Linked DNA regions of Homo sapiens: all the other regions are linked to region 4. The links are contacts of gene promoters, found by promoter capture Hi-C in blood cells and fetal thymus (Javierre and others, 2016). All regions are on one chromosome and are shown on one strand. Each heading gives the region's core, a stretch centred on a gene start or on the middle of the fragment in contact. The rest is flanking DNA. Distances are from core to core; before and after follow the strand shown. Region 1 holds the start of NCOA5 (nuclear receptor coactivator 5). Region 2 overlaps MMP9 (matrix metallopeptidase 9). Region 3 overlaps ZSWIM1 (zinc finger SWIM-type containing 1). Region 4 holds the start of TP53RK (TP53 regulating kinase). Region 5 has its middle 6.0 kb from the start of CD40.

Region 1 (2,700 bases), core at 1-2,500, 600 kb before region 4:
CTGTTACATTATCCCTGAAGAGCCCAGGGCATTCATAGAATCTGCTTTGCCTCAGGAAAAATTCTGTGCACAGAGTGCAAGCCAGAAGAACCACAATTAATCAGCTACTCCTCGGGCAGCGTTTCCCAAAGTGTGGAACGCAGAATAATTTCAGGAGGAACAAGGACGCACTGTTTATTTCAACAGACAGATATTTATTTTTTTTATAAGCATTAGAAAAATAACTGGCTTTCCAGTACCCGGTTTGTGATTGAAGTTGCCGCCTTAAATATATTTAAGGAGAAAAAAAGAGTCAGTTTGAATTTTTTAAAAAATGTAACATTTGGTAAATAGCAGTACAGATGGTCCACGGACATAAAGGTGCAACGCGAGACTGAAACGTGTGCAACGCCGTCCTAAGAGAAGCCCCTCGCCCGCTGGCGGGGAGCGGACAGTGCCCCGCGCCGGGAGCTTGGAAAGCCGGCCGGATCGGACGCTGGCGCTGAGCTACGTGGTAAACCCGGGAACAGTTCCTCTCCCCGTTCTCTGGGCCCGAGGTCCGCGCCTACAAAACGCGTGGGGTGTCACACCACAAGGAGACACCCCGAGAATGCGGTCAGGGGCCGCGAGACGGTGGCGGGGGACAGCGCTCAGTACACCGCTCGGCGCTGCACGCCTGGAGAACGCCCGGTGCCACGGGACGCCTTGGGCCCGGTTCGAATCCCGACTGCGCCACTGACTCGCTGAGGACCCGCGGGCGAGCGACTCCACCGTTTCGACAGGGGGTGCGGGATGTGCGGCTCAACCAGAGAAGCCTTGAGGACTCCTAGTGACCGACCGTTCGTGCACAGACAGGCGGCTGCGATGCGACGCCGCCGACCTGCGTCCACCACAGAGAACCGTAGGCCGCCTCGGCCGGCCGGGCCTGGGCCTGACGGGAGCCGGAGGCGGCCGCGCCCCGCACCGGGCATGCGCAGCACCGCGCGCACCCGGAGAGGAGCCGAGACCGTGGCCGCGCGTCGAGTGGGCCTTCCCGCCTCAGCCTCCCCGTCCGGCCAGGCCCCCCACAACGGCCTGCCCGTCAGCCCCACGCCTCGGCTGACGGCCAGCGCTTCCCGGCACTCACCGCTACCAGCGCGGCGGGCTCCCGGCCGCTCCTTCGCCTCAGGCCCGCCGCTGCCGCCTCCGCGTCGGCCCACCTGCCCGCCGTAGGACAAAGGCGCCACCAACCGACCGGCGCGGGCACGAGGCAATGGCGGCCGGGCGGAGAGTGGAGATGGGGGCAGAGGGCGCGCACGTAGCGGCAGGCGCGGCACTGTCGCAAGACCGCGCGTGTTTACGGCAGGGCTGAGTTGGGGCGTCGATCTCCTTGGCAATGAGGGCCCGGGAAGTGGCTCTCGGGCGGGAGTTGAGAACGCAGGGAGTTGCCTAGCAACAGCGTCCTAGGCTGAGGATGGGCCCCACGGTGGTCGCCTCAGCCCCCGCCCCAGAGTACTTTTTTTCTGTTTTCAGAGCACATTCCCTCCTCCCTAACTGTGGGAACAGAACATTCAAATCCCCAAATACCTTGATTTAGTCTTGCATAAAACTGAAAGCAAAAACCCCAAATCCCTATACACGTGTGTATTGGAGAATATATATAGTCCTGTAACCTCCGGACCACAAGGAACAAAGAGAGCAGAAAGGTGGAGAAAATGTTGTATTTAAATTTACATTTAAATAGGCTCTGTACTCTATTAGTTTCACTGACAAGCGGCAAAAGGTTTCTGGAGATATAGTCACAGGTTCTTCTTGAGTTATTTATTCTTGGAATATTCGTTCAACGTCAAAAATTTCCCGGAATGTAACTGTTGACCGTGAAGCCTGTAAAATGTTGTACTGTTCATTTCATGTATAGAATACATTTGTCACAGGGAATGGGATTTGCTCACACAATAGTAAATGCACTCTATTAATCACAGCCATAGCTATATTAATCAGGTACTCTTTTATTAGTGTTGGAAACGCCTCAGACTCCATGGGGTCTAGTTCTTCTCCTTGCGAATATTGCCTACTAAGAAAAAATGGTGCCTGCGGAATTTAAACACTACAAGAAGCCAGATTTCTTTGACATCTACCCCTATGCTCACTCCACTCATTTATTCACTGAATGTTTATTACATACCTACTATGTAGCCCTATACTTATTATATGCCTGCTTGTTAGGCGCTGTTATGAGCAAATGCAGACCCTTTTCTGCTATCTTTGAGATTACAGTCTGGTGAAAGCATTAGACGAATAATCACACTTGAGTGTGTAATTGCAAACTGAGATAAACGCTGTGATGGAAAGAAATAGGGATTCTCAATGGTTGTAACTAGAACTTTAGTTTACTCACAGGCAAAGTGGGTTATTCCAATTCCCACTTTATAAGACTGTATGAAATTAGAAATGAAGACATAAAGTCTGTCAAATAATGGATACCCAACAAATGTTCATTCTTATTCCTTTCCCTCCAATATAGATCCTAATACTATGAAAATTTAAGAAGAATCATATTAATTAGATGATTAAGATAACCAAGCTTAGGGAAAAATGTTGGTTTAGAGGTGAGTGGCAGTACCTCAAGTGGGTAGTGGACTTTAGCCAAAAGATGTATTCAGTGACTTGTGTATTAAGTGTTTAATGAGTGTTTTTTATGCACTTGATTTTGTGGAGAGTAGAGAGTAAGGTAGACAAAAT
Region 2 (2,700 bases), core at 79-2,578, 670 kb before region 4:
AGAGGTATGCAGGAATAGGAAGAGTCTCACCCCGTGTCTCTTTTTAGGTCCTCGCCCTGAACCTGAGCCACGGCCTCCAACCACCACCACACCGCAGCCCACGGCTCCCCCGACGGTCTGCCCCACCGGACCCCCCACTGTCCACCCCTCAGAGCGCCCCACAGCTGGCCCCACAGGTCCCCCCTCAGCTGGCCCCACAGGTCCCCCCACTGCTGGCCCTTCTACGGCCACTACTGTGCCTTTGAGTCCGGTGGACGATGCCTGCAACGTGAACATCTTCGACGCCATCGCGGAGATTGGGAACCAGCTGTATTTGTTCAAGGATGGGTGAGGAGGCGGGGTTGTGTGGATGCGGGAGGGGGCTTTGCGGAGGGGCTGCCCGTCCCTTCCCGCCCACTGGCCCTGTGTCCAAGGCTTAGAGCCCGTCCTTTCCCTCCTCGCTTTCTCAGGAAGTACTGGCGATTCTCTGAGGGCAGGGGGAGCCGGCCGCAGGGCCCCTTCCTTATCGCCGACAAGTGGCCCGCGCTGCCCCGCAAGCTGGACTCGGTCTTTGAGGAGCGGCTCTCCAAGAAGCTTTTCTTCTTCTCTGGTTAGTTACCTACTTTCCCTCCCCCGCCCGGTCAATCCCCATCAGTCAAGGAGGCTCAAGAGACCATCGATAACCCACGAAACGTCTTGTGCGTTTTAGAAAAATACGCCCCCTGGCGGACGCAGTTTAGCAAACGTAGGGGCGGCTGAGTTTCTGCCCCCTCCTCTCCACGCCCTCGCGTCGCTCTACCCAGCGCCTCTGCCCCTGGGTTGCAGGGACTGCGGGCACGCGGGCTAGGAAAGGCCTCGCCGGAATCTCCCTCCTCGCGTTCTAGGAGTACGTGCTCCCTCTGCGCCCCCAAACCGACGTGACCCTCCTCCCCTGCAGGGCGCCAGGTGTGGGTGTACACAGGCGCGTCGGTGCTGGGCCCGAGGCGTCTGGACAAGCTGGGCCTGGGAGCCGACGTGGCCCAGGTGACCGGGGCCCTCCGGAGTGGCAGGGGGAAGATGCTGCTGTTCAGCGGGCGGCGCCTCTGGAGGTGAGCGCCGCCGCGGCCGCCGGCAGGGGGAGCCCGGGCGCCGTCGGTCCGTCCGCTAGCCGGCTCAGCACCTGTCTCCTCCGCGCCTGCCCGCAGGTTCGACGTGAAGGCGCAGATGGTGGATCCCCGGAGCGCCAGCGAGGTGGACCGGATGTTCCCCGGGGTGCCTTTGGACACGCACGACGTCTTCCAGTACCGAGGTGAGGGCTGAGGAGGATCCCTTCGTGAGACACCACACTAAGCTCCTCTTAGTGAGTGGTCAAATTCTGAGCGAGGAAGAAAAAGCCCTTGGAAATGGAAACAAATGCCCCAGCACAGACAAGATCCCAGCAGAGGCAGAGGCCTTCTCCAGGTCATTTAGGAAGTCAGGGATGCAACCAAGACCAGGACCCAGATTTCCTGCCTCCCCGGCTGGAAGCTCTTTCTCCTTCAGTACAGGACGGCAGGTGGTTTGTATGGAAGCTCAGTTATTAGACAACAGTCATCAAGTGCCGATAATGTGCCAGGCACTGTGCTACAGGGAGAGATAAGACAATTCACAGCTCTGTGACTTTGGGCAAGTCACTGCTTCTCTACTCTTCGAGCCTCAGTTTCCCCATCTGTAATATGGGGACTATAGCTGGAATTACACTTGACTTCCCTTTCTTACCAGTCACATCCAAACAGTTGACAAGGTGAACAAGATTTCCTGCCACCAAAATCTTTTTCGAGTCTGTCATTTTTTTTGCCATCTTCTTTATAAACACCCCAGCCCAAACCATACTGGCTGTCCAGGACCTTTAACAAATTCCATGAGATTAGAGAGGGGGTAGGAGTGAAGGGCAATGGTCTTGGGAGTGACCCCAGATGAATTCCAAGGTCAAAGAAATTAAGAGGATCTGACACTCCACCCCCGTGTTCTCATCTCTTCCCACTCCTCCTGTTATTTACTCTGCTCCACCCACACTGGCTGCTCTTTGAACAGATCAAGGTCATTCCTAGCTTACAGCCTTTGTGCCAGTTGTTCCCTCTGTCTGGAAAGCTTCCCCTCCAGATTGTCACTGGGCCATCCCACTGTCTTCCTTCAGGTTTCAGTGCTAAGGCCATTGCTTCAATGAGGCCTTCTTTGATGCTTATTATCTATTTACTTGTTTTTATTTTCTCCATAGCTTTCTATATTTTCTTTTTTTTTCTTTTTTCTTTTTTTTTTTTTTTGAGATGGAGTCTTGCTCTGTCGCCCAGGCTGGAGTGCAGTGGCACGATCTCAGCTCACTGCAACCTCCGCCTCCCGGGTTCAAGCGATTCTCCTGCCTCAGCCTCCCAAGTAGCTGGGATTACAGGTGCCTGCCACCACGCTTGGCTAATTTTTTGTATTTTTTAGTAGAGACGGGGTTTCACCATCTTGGCCAGGCTGGTCTTGAACTCCTGACCTCGTGATCCACCCGCCTCAGCCTCCCAAAGTGCTGGGATTACAGGCATGAGCCACCGCACCCAGCCGCTTTCTATATTTTCAAAACCAATCTCATTTATTTATGTGTTTGCTTAATTGTCTCTTGCCTCACTAGAGTGTAAGCACCAAGATAATTGAGATCATGCCTGCATTTTTTCTGCTTATCCCCAGTATCTTGAACAAAGCACATAGTAGATGCTCAGT
Region 3 (2,700 bases), core at 102-2,601, 800 kb before region 4:
CGTGGAAAGGCTGCTCCTGACCTCCCTGCAGAGCACAATGTGCTCAGCCACAGCAGGCAACCTGAGAAAGTTGTATACACTCCTGAGCAACTGCATCCCTCCAGCCAAGCTGCCCGAGCTTCACTCACACTGGCTGCTCAACGACCGCATCTGGCTGGCTCACCGCTGGAGAAGCCGAGCTGAGAGCAGCCACTACTTCCAGAGCCTCGAGGTCACCACCCACATCCTCAGCCAGTTCTTTGGTACCACCCCATCTGAGAAACAAGGTATGGCTTCTCTGTTCCGTTACATGCAGCAGAACTCTGCAGACAAGGCAAACTTCAACCAGGGCCTGTGTGCCCAGAACAATCATGCTCCCTCAGACACCATCCCCGAAAGCCCCAAACTGGAGCAGCTGGTAGAATCCCACATCCAGCACTCCCTCAATGCCATCTGCACAGGGCCAGCAGCCCAACTGTGCCTGGGCGAGCTTGCTGTGGTCCAGAAATCCACACACCTCATTGGCTCTGGCTCAGAAAAGATGAACATACAGATCCTGGAAGATACCCATAAGGTGCAGCCCCAGCCCCCTGCCAGCTGCAGCTGCTACTTTAACCAGGCCTTCCACCTGCCCTGCCGCCACATCCTAGCCATGCTCAGTGCCCGCCGCCAGGTGCTCCAGCCCGACATGCTGCCGGCTCAGTGGACGGCAGGCTGTGCTACCAGTCTAGACAGCATCCTGGGCAGCAAGTGGAGTGAGACCCTGGATAAGCACCTGGCAGTGACTCACCTCACCGAGGAGGTGGGTCAGCTGTTGCAGCACTGCACCAAGGAGGAGTTTGAGCGGAGGTATAGCACCCTGCGGGAACTGGCCGACAGCTGGATTGGGCCTTATGAGCAGGTCCAACTCTGATTATTCTCGATGCCCAGAGATGCTCATGCACCTGTGCACACTCACATCCACCCATACACACACACACACACACACACACACACACACACACACTCCCTTACACTGTTGTACTTCCGTGGGCCCTCCTTCCAGAACAAGGACAACAAGGACAAGGTTGAAGGGTCTTCTCATCTACCATGGCCTGCTACCTAGCATGTGTCTAGCTCAATGAGACAGGAGTCAGCAAATCTTAATCTGTTTAGTTTACTCAGGTGGCCACATACAGTCTCTGTTGTATATTCTTGGTTTTGTTTTAATATTTTTTTTCTTTTTTTTTTTTTTTTTTTTTTTGAGAAGGAGTCTGTCTCCGTCACCCAGGCTGGAGTGCAGTGGCGCAATCTCTGCTCACTGCAAGCTCCACCTCCTGGGTTCACACCATTCTCCTGCCTCAGCCTCCCGAGTATCTGGGACTACAGGCGCCCGCCACAATGCCGGGCTAATTTTTTGTATTTTTAGTAGAGACGGGGTTTCACCGTGTTAGCCAGGATGGTCTCGATCTCCTGACTTCGTGATCTGCCCGCCTCGGCCTCCCAAAGTGCTGGGATTACAGGCGTGAGCCATCGCACCCGGCCTGTTTTAACATTTTCATAAGGTAAAAACCTTTCTTAGCTCAAAGGTCTTTAAAAAAGCAGGCAATCCAGCTGGGCATGGTGGCTCACGCCTGTAATCCCAGCATTTTGGGAGGCTGAGGTGGACAGATGACTTGAGGTCAGGAGTTCAAGACCAGCCTGGCCAACATAGTGAAACCCTGTCTCTACTAAAAATACACAAATTAGCCAGGTGTGGTGGCGGGGGCCCTGTAATCCCAGCTACTCGGGAGGCTGAGGCAGGAGAATCGCTTGAACCTGGGAGGCAGAGGTTGCAGTAGGCCAAGATCCTGCTGCCACTGCACTCCAGCCTGGGAGGGTGAGACTCCATCTAAAAAAAATAAAATAAATGGCAACCCCTGGTCTAAGATAAGAGATAAAACATCAGGTGGTGAGGTTGAGGTTTGGGGCTTGGTAGCAGTTGCCCCAGTCATGAGATGACTCACTTAACCCGTCTCCTTTAAGTGAGCTGGGCTGGGAGGCTTCCTACAGGGGAAGAGGCCCCTCTGGGGAGCTGACTCAGCCAGGCTCCCTGAACTTTTTTCCTTGTCCCATCCTGGGGTCAATAAAACTGAATGTTGCATATTCTAGCACTTGTCTAGTTTTTTTTTTGTTCCATAGAAGGCAGTTTAGGGTATATCATGGAGAGAATAGACTTTAGAGTGTTATACAACATGTGAATCCTGGTTGGTTCCTTCCCTGCTTGATTTTTGTGCCTGGTTCTGCCTTTTACTAGCTATGAGACTTATTAGGATAAGTTACCCCTCTAAACCTCAACCTGATTATCTGTAAAAATGGGGATCTCCACAGGGTATGTTCACAGAGCAGGCATACCTAGTGGGTGCTCAATTAAGTATTAATTTTCCTTCCTTGCCTATGGTCCTATGACCTGCCTTCAACATGCTGGGAAATTTAAGGCAAGAGGAGAATTCAAATACCTAGGACTTAATATAAGAAATTCTGGCCAGGCATGGTGGCTCACACCTGTAATCCCAGCACTTTGGGAGGCCGAGGCAGGCGGATCACCTGAGGTCGGGAGTTTGAGACCAGCCTGACCAACATGGTGAAACCGTGTCTCTACTAAAAATACAAAAATTAGCCGGGCGTAGTGGCAGGCACCTGTAATCCCAGCTATTCGGGAAGCTGAGGCAGGAGAATCACTTGAACCTGGGAGACGGAGGT
Region 4 (2,700 bases), core at 51-2,550:
TGCTTAACGAAACAGATCATGAGGCTGAAAACAGAAATATGAATACACAAATAACTTCATGAAATCTTAAGTCTCTGAAAGGGCAGCAATGTGTCCGCTTGTTGGCTACTGAATATCCCCCACCCAGATCTCCCAGCACTTAACAATGTCCTGGTACCCACTGGTACCTAAAAAATACTGATAAAAGAAAGGCAAGAAGCGTAAAAGTAAAAAGCCAGGGCTTCTGAGTCAGAGGCATAAGGAGCTGAGGGCCTGGACCGGCCACTTAGTAACCGTGTAACCTTGGGCAAGTTACTTCTCTCTGAGTGTCACTTTCTCATCTGAGGACAAAGTTTATGGTGCTGGCGCACAATGATGTTTAATGAAAAAATAGGCAATTTAATGAAATCCAACATTTATTGGGCACTATGTGCCAGGCACACATTTGAACATAATACGTGACACACATACCTCCTCTAATGGTCACAACATCCCTATGACATGGATACTGCTACTATGTCTCCCATTTTACAGGTGAGAAAACCGAGGCTGAGAGGCTAAATAACTTGTTGAAAGGCTACACAAGCAGCAGAGTTAGTATTTCAACCCAGGGAGCCTGGCTCCAGTGGGGCAAGTACTTGTCATTACATGTTTCTTAAAACTAATAAATGGAAAGATAATGATCGAAAATTGAAACGAGTCAAATGGGGAAACCAAGGCTCAGGGAAGTTAAACATGTTCAACATTGAGCAATAATGACAGATCCCAGATTTGAACCAGGCAGAACGGCCTCAGGACAAAAGCTTGACGCTGCATGGCCACGTGGTTTCTTAAGACTTAACGAATGAAAAAAGGGATGAAAGAATAACATTTCCGAAAGGCCGGACACCGCAGAAGGCACAGAAGGAGAAACTGAGGGAAATCCAGCTTCGGAGCGCAGGGGAGTCCCTCACCCGCCCAGGCCCCAGAGCCTCGGGGCCGCCCACGCCGGGATCCCGGCCCACCTTACCAGCGCGGCGACAGCGGAGGAGCGCCCGGGCCTCCTGCACCGTCCGCCGTCTGCCAAGCCGCGCCTCCAGCGCCGGGTGCCGGTAGCCCTTGGGGAAGCGGTGCTTGATCACCGCCGCGCGGCCCTGGAAGCGGCCACGGAACACGCGCGCCTCGGCACCCTGCTTCACCAGCTCCAGGCCGCTCAAGAAGCGGCTGCTCCGCTCCCGGGCTGCGGCCAGAGCCTCAGCCTCCGGGGCGGGCTCCTCGCCATCGGCCGGCGTAGTAGCTCTGGCCGCCGCCATGACTGCTCGGCGCAACAGCTCCAACCGATCAGCTGTCTCTGAAAACTGTCGCGATGCTTCGGCTCGCTTCGGAAATCCTGGGACTTCTTCGGCAATCCTGGGACTTCTTCGGCTACCCGAATGCGTCCACCCCGGACACTTCCGGCCTGTAAGTGGTTACGCCTCCCAACTTTTCGGCTCTCTGAAGCCTGAGGTTCCCTGCAGGAAGGGCTCTTGTGGCCCCGCCTTCCGCCTCTTCGGCTATCTCCGTACACGTTCGGCAACGCTCAGTAAGTGGCTCTTCCCGACTCCTTGGCTCTCCGGAAATCTTCGGTGACTCTCGCAGCCGGCTTTGGGGGCCCACCTCTCAGTTGGTCGTCTCTTTCCGGAAAACTTCGGCGCCTCTCGAGAAAAACGTCGGACGCGCTTTGCTCTCTTCAGAAGTCTCTTCCGGGACAGCTGTACCCTCTAGTAGTCTCTTTTTGGAACTCCTCTTCCCCTGACTCCTACATTCCCCCCAAAATGTGCTCATACAAGTCAGAGTCGGAAGGGTCAGACAATGAACCATGTTTCCGACATCCTCTTAAGTGCTAGGATAACTACCATTTAGTGCATTCAGAAGAAATAAGGTTAAATGATGAAAATCCTTACAGAAAAGAAAATTGAGACTCAGAGCTGGCAGAGGGGGTGGTAAGATGGGGTGGGGAGTGGGGGCTGGGGAATCCGGGAAAGTCTTCCGGAGACAGAACCTAAACTGAATTGGGAATAATTAAACTTTTTCAGTTTCTACCTGTTTCATTACAAAGCTTATAATAACACAGGCTGTAGCAAATTCTTACAATACGGAACTTTGCACACGCACACATAAATAAATAAACTACCTATCCCCCTTGTGACACTGCTGGCCGTTAGTTTCTTTCCAGAATTTTCTTTCATTCAGTGTGCACACTCACACATCGTTGTGGCGTTTTTTCCAACATAAATGACATCATACTGTGGGTTCTTTGGCAACTTGCTTTTCATTTTCCTAAACAATTTATCTCAGACTATATTCCATATCAATACATACAGAGCTACCACGTCCTTCTACCTGGTCAGGCAGTTTCTTGTTGCTAAACAGTTGTTTCCAGTTTGTTGTTTCTCAGGAAAACACTTTACTTACTATTGCCAGTTTATTATAAAAGATAGTATAAAAGATAAAAATGAACAGCCAGATGAAGACGTACATAAGGAAAAGTAAAAATTGTACGTGTTTATCGTAAGTAACATGTTTTGAAATATGTATACATTGTGGAATGGCTAAATCCAGCTAGTTAACGTTACCTAACATACTGATCATTTCGGGGGTGAGGACACTTAAAATCTATTATCTTAGCATTTTTCAAGAATACAACCCATTGTTATTATCTATAGTCACCATGTCGTGCAATAGATTTCATGAATGTTTCCT
Region 5 (2,700 bases), core at 8-2,507, 580 kb before region 4:
AAAGGAGAAAAATGTCATCCTGCATAGAGAACAACAAGTTGTGCCGAGTGTTCTGAGGGAACATTGCAGGGCAGATGGATTGTTCTGGATGTTCAGGATGTGTACCCTTCTTACTTGAGGGGAAGGAGGGCAGGAGGCTTGACAAGGAAGCCAAGGAGGCATAGAATGTGCGTTGTAAGCCAAGTGTGGCCACTCTGATTCCTTTCCCAAGACTTTGAACCTCGAAGGAGTGATGCTCAAGTTCAGGGGTAGTTAGAGATTGTGTTCATTATCTATTGCTGGGTAAGAGGTTGACCTGAAACTTAGTGGCTTGAAACAAGAAAACATCTATTATCTCACAGTTTCTGTGGGTTAGGAATCCAGAAGCAACTTAGCTGGGTGGTTCTGATTAGATCACCACTGGGATCAATGTGTCAGCTGGGGCTGAAGTCATATGAGGCTTGACTGCTGCGGGAGGGTCCACTTCCACTTCCACTTCCACTTTCACTTCCTATGTGGCTGAGGGCTGGAAGCTTTGAATCCTTGCCATATGGACTTCTCCATAGGCTGCCTGAGTGCTGAGTGTCCTCACGACATGGCAGACAGCTGCTTCCCCAGAGGGCCTGGAGACAGTGCAGGGGGTGGGGGAGAGGGGAGAGAGAGAGAGAGAGAGGAGAGAAGAGAGAGAAAGGAGAGAGAGAAGAGAAGGAGAGAGAAAGAAGAGAGAGAAAGAGAAGAGAGAGAGAAAGGAGAGAGAAAGAAGAAGGAGAGAGAGAAGAGAGAAAGGAGAGAGAGAAAGAAGAGAGAAAGAAAAGAGAGAAGAGAAAGGAGAGAGAGAAAGGAGAGAGAAGAGAGAGAAAGAAGACAGAGAAAGGAGAGAGAGAAGAGAAAAGAGAAGAGAGAGAGAAGAGAGAGAGGAGACAGAGAAGGGAGAGAGAAAGAAGAGAGAGAAGAGAGAAAAAGAAGAGTGAGACAGTGCACACATAAGATGGAAGCCTCAGTCCTTTTATTTTTATTTAATTTTTTTGTAGAGATGAATTATTGCTGTGTTGCTCAGCTGGTCTAGAACTCCTTGCTTTAAGTGATCCTTCCTTTCTTGACCTCCCAAAGTGTTGGAATTACAGGCATGAGCCACTGCACCTGACCTCAGTGGGTTTGTAACCTAACCTTGATGTGACCTACACTCACTTCTGCTGGTTTCTGTTGGTCACACAGACCAACCCTGGTACAATAAGGAAGGGGACTACATAAGGGTGTGAAGACCAGGAGGTAGGGATTGTTGAGGGCTGTCTTGGAGGTAGGCTGGCACAGAGATGGTTTATAGAACTTTTCTGTGGCAGAGTCTCATCTATTCCCTGCCTCCTGTGGTTTTGCCTGGGTGCCTCCCTTGAGCCTTCCTGTCGGCTCTCTGGGCTGCCCAACACCCTTTCAATAGTGTCCTCTTTTATTTAAGTTCACTGCTACATCTTCTCTTGTTTGCAAGGACAACTCTGATTAGAACAGGTGCTACAAGAGAGGACAGTGGCGGGGGAGGTGGGTGGGTAGCAGAGGAAACTCATTTTAGATAAGATGGTCAGGGAAGGCCTCTCTGAGGAGGGGCCACTTACCCTGAGACATGAATGGTGAGGAAGAGTCAGCAGATGAAAGGTGGGAGGAGGGGCGTTTTAGACAGAGGGGGCAGCATAGCCAAAGCTCTGCGGTGGGAACCAAGGTTGCCAATGGCCAGGTCACGCAGCCTCTTGAGGTCACAGTAAAAACTTGGATCCTTTCCCCTGCAACCAAAGCATCTCTTCTTCCAAACATCAGAGTCTGGGAGGGCTGAGGACCAGGCTCCAGGCCTCATTGTGCGGGGATCAGATCAGCCGAGTAAGTGGCTTTAACCAGATAAGGATCAAGACATTCTCTGCTTTGTTCTCGCATCTGTTTTGCCGGCTCTTGGGTTTTCCAAATTTCTGCTTGGGTTCTTTTCTGAGTTTCTTAGTTCCCTTTGATAAATTCCCACGTGATACTGGTGAGCTAAAGGGAAAGCTTTTTGTCCATAGTTAGGCCTGGGAATCCCAGCTAGAGAGCCCTGTCATCTTATGGAGATGGGCTGCTACCCAGGACGGTGTGGGAATGGGCAGGTGGGTCTGAGGGATCCCTTCAGCCTCATTACTCTATAGTTCTGCGTTTATTCAACAAATACCTGTTCAGCATCTGGCAGGTGTTCAGACTCTGTGTGGGTGTTAGGTTAAGAAGATAAAGGAGGCACTGTTCCTCCTCTCCACAATTCAAGTTAGAAGTGAGGGATGGCCTGATCCAAAGGCGATTGAGTGCAAATTCCTTGTTCCTTAGGAATCAGCCACATGGCTGGCCCACAGCCAAAGCCAACAGGTCCTCTGTACCCTGTATTTTAGGGAGCCAGATAGTTTCCCTCCAGGTTTACTAAAGGAGGCAGAACTCGCTTTACACCCACAGCCCAAAATTCCAATTTCCTCTTCCTTGCCCATACAGCAATCTTGGGGAGGAAGGAGGTCCTTGGTTTTACTGAGTAGTCAGGTGTTCATAGGAGAAGGCCATTTCCTCCCTCCCCGTTAAGGGTGGGGTAGTGGAAATTCAAAGGAAGTCCCTCATGGAGACTGAGAGGTGACTGCAAGCATGGGGTGCTGGGATGCTGTTCCCTGATGGGTGGTGGACTGTGGGCAGTGGACTGTGCCTATCTGAGCAGGGTAGAGGAGAGGT

The links. Contacts are between HindIII fragments. The CHiCAGO score rates a contact against its expected background, and 5 or more counts as called.
Region 1: the fragment with the promoter of NCOA5 here is called in contact with the fragment with the promoter of TP53RK in region 4 in 2 of 17 cell types (total B cells and monocytes); the score reaches 9.3 in total B cells.
Region 2: a fragment that was not itself captured here is called in contact with the fragment with the promoter of TP53RK in region 4 in 1 of 17 cell types (activated CD4 T cells); the score reaches 5.0 in activated CD4 T cells.
Region 3: a contact is called between a fragment that was not itself captured here and the fragment with the promoter of TP53RK in region 4, in 1 of 17 cell types (naive CD8 T cells). The highest score is 5.3, in naive CD8 T cells.
Region 5: a contact is called between a fragment that was not itself captured here and the fragment with the promoter of TP53RK in region 4, in 1 of 17 cell types (monocytes). The highest score is 5.7, in monocytes.

The regions. Positions count from the first base shown.
Region 1 is chr20:46,088,712-46,091,411 of GRCh38, forward strand. NCOA5 (nuclear receptor coactivator 5) reads right to left here and starts at 1,251. Exons shown (of 8, transcript NM_020967.3): 1 at 1,106-1,251. RefSeq lists enhancers at 1-537, 475-684, 538-1,351, 1,365-1,414 and a silencer at 855-1,204. The HindIII fragment of the contact is 2,710 bases long and covers 1-2,540 here.
Region 2 is chr20:46,013,208-46,015,907 of GRCh38, forward strand. It overlaps MMP9 (matrix metallopeptidase 9), which reads left to right. Exons shown (of 13, transcript NM_004994.3): 9 at 48-327; 10 at 450-589; 11 at 917-1,067; 12 at 1,164-1,267. SLC12A5-AS1 (SLC12A5 and MMP9 antisense RNA 1) reads right to left here. Exons shown (of 3, transcript NR_147699.1): 3 at 295-1,581. Among named protein-coding and RNA genes, the nearest start is that of MMP9, 5.6 kb to the left of the region's middle. RefSeq lists a silencer at 1,014-1,233. The HindIII fragment of the contact is 1,515 bases long and covers 572-2,086 here.
Region 3 is chr20:45,883,159-45,885,858 of GRCh38, forward strand. It overlaps ZSWIM1 (zinc finger SWIM-type containing 1), which reads left to right. Exons shown (of 2, transcript NM_080603.5): 2 at 1-2,108. The coding sequence ends at 892. Among named protein-coding and RNA genes, the nearest start is that of SPATA25, 3.1 kb to the right of the region's middle. The HindIII fragment of the contact is 4,284 bases long and covers 1-2,700 here.
Region 4 is chr20:46,688,144-46,690,843 of GRCh38, forward strand. TP53RK (TP53 regulating kinase) reads right to left here and starts at 1,301. Exons shown (of 2, transcript NM_033550.4): 1 at 989-1,301. The coding sequence starts at 1,271. It overlaps TP53RK-DT (TP53RK divergent transcript), which reads left to right and starts at 1,156. Exons shown (of 1, transcript NR_186399.1): 1 at 1,156-2,146. RefSeq lists a silencer at 880-929 and an enhancer at 1,160-1,749. The HindIII fragment of the contact is 1,274 bases long and covers 781-2,054 here.
Region 5 is chr20:46,110,987-46,113,686 of GRCh38, forward strand. No RefSeq gene overlaps it. Among named protein-coding and RNA genes, the nearest start is that of CD40, 6.0 kb to the right of the region's middle. The HindIII fragment of the contact is 1,495 bases long and covers 511-2,005 here.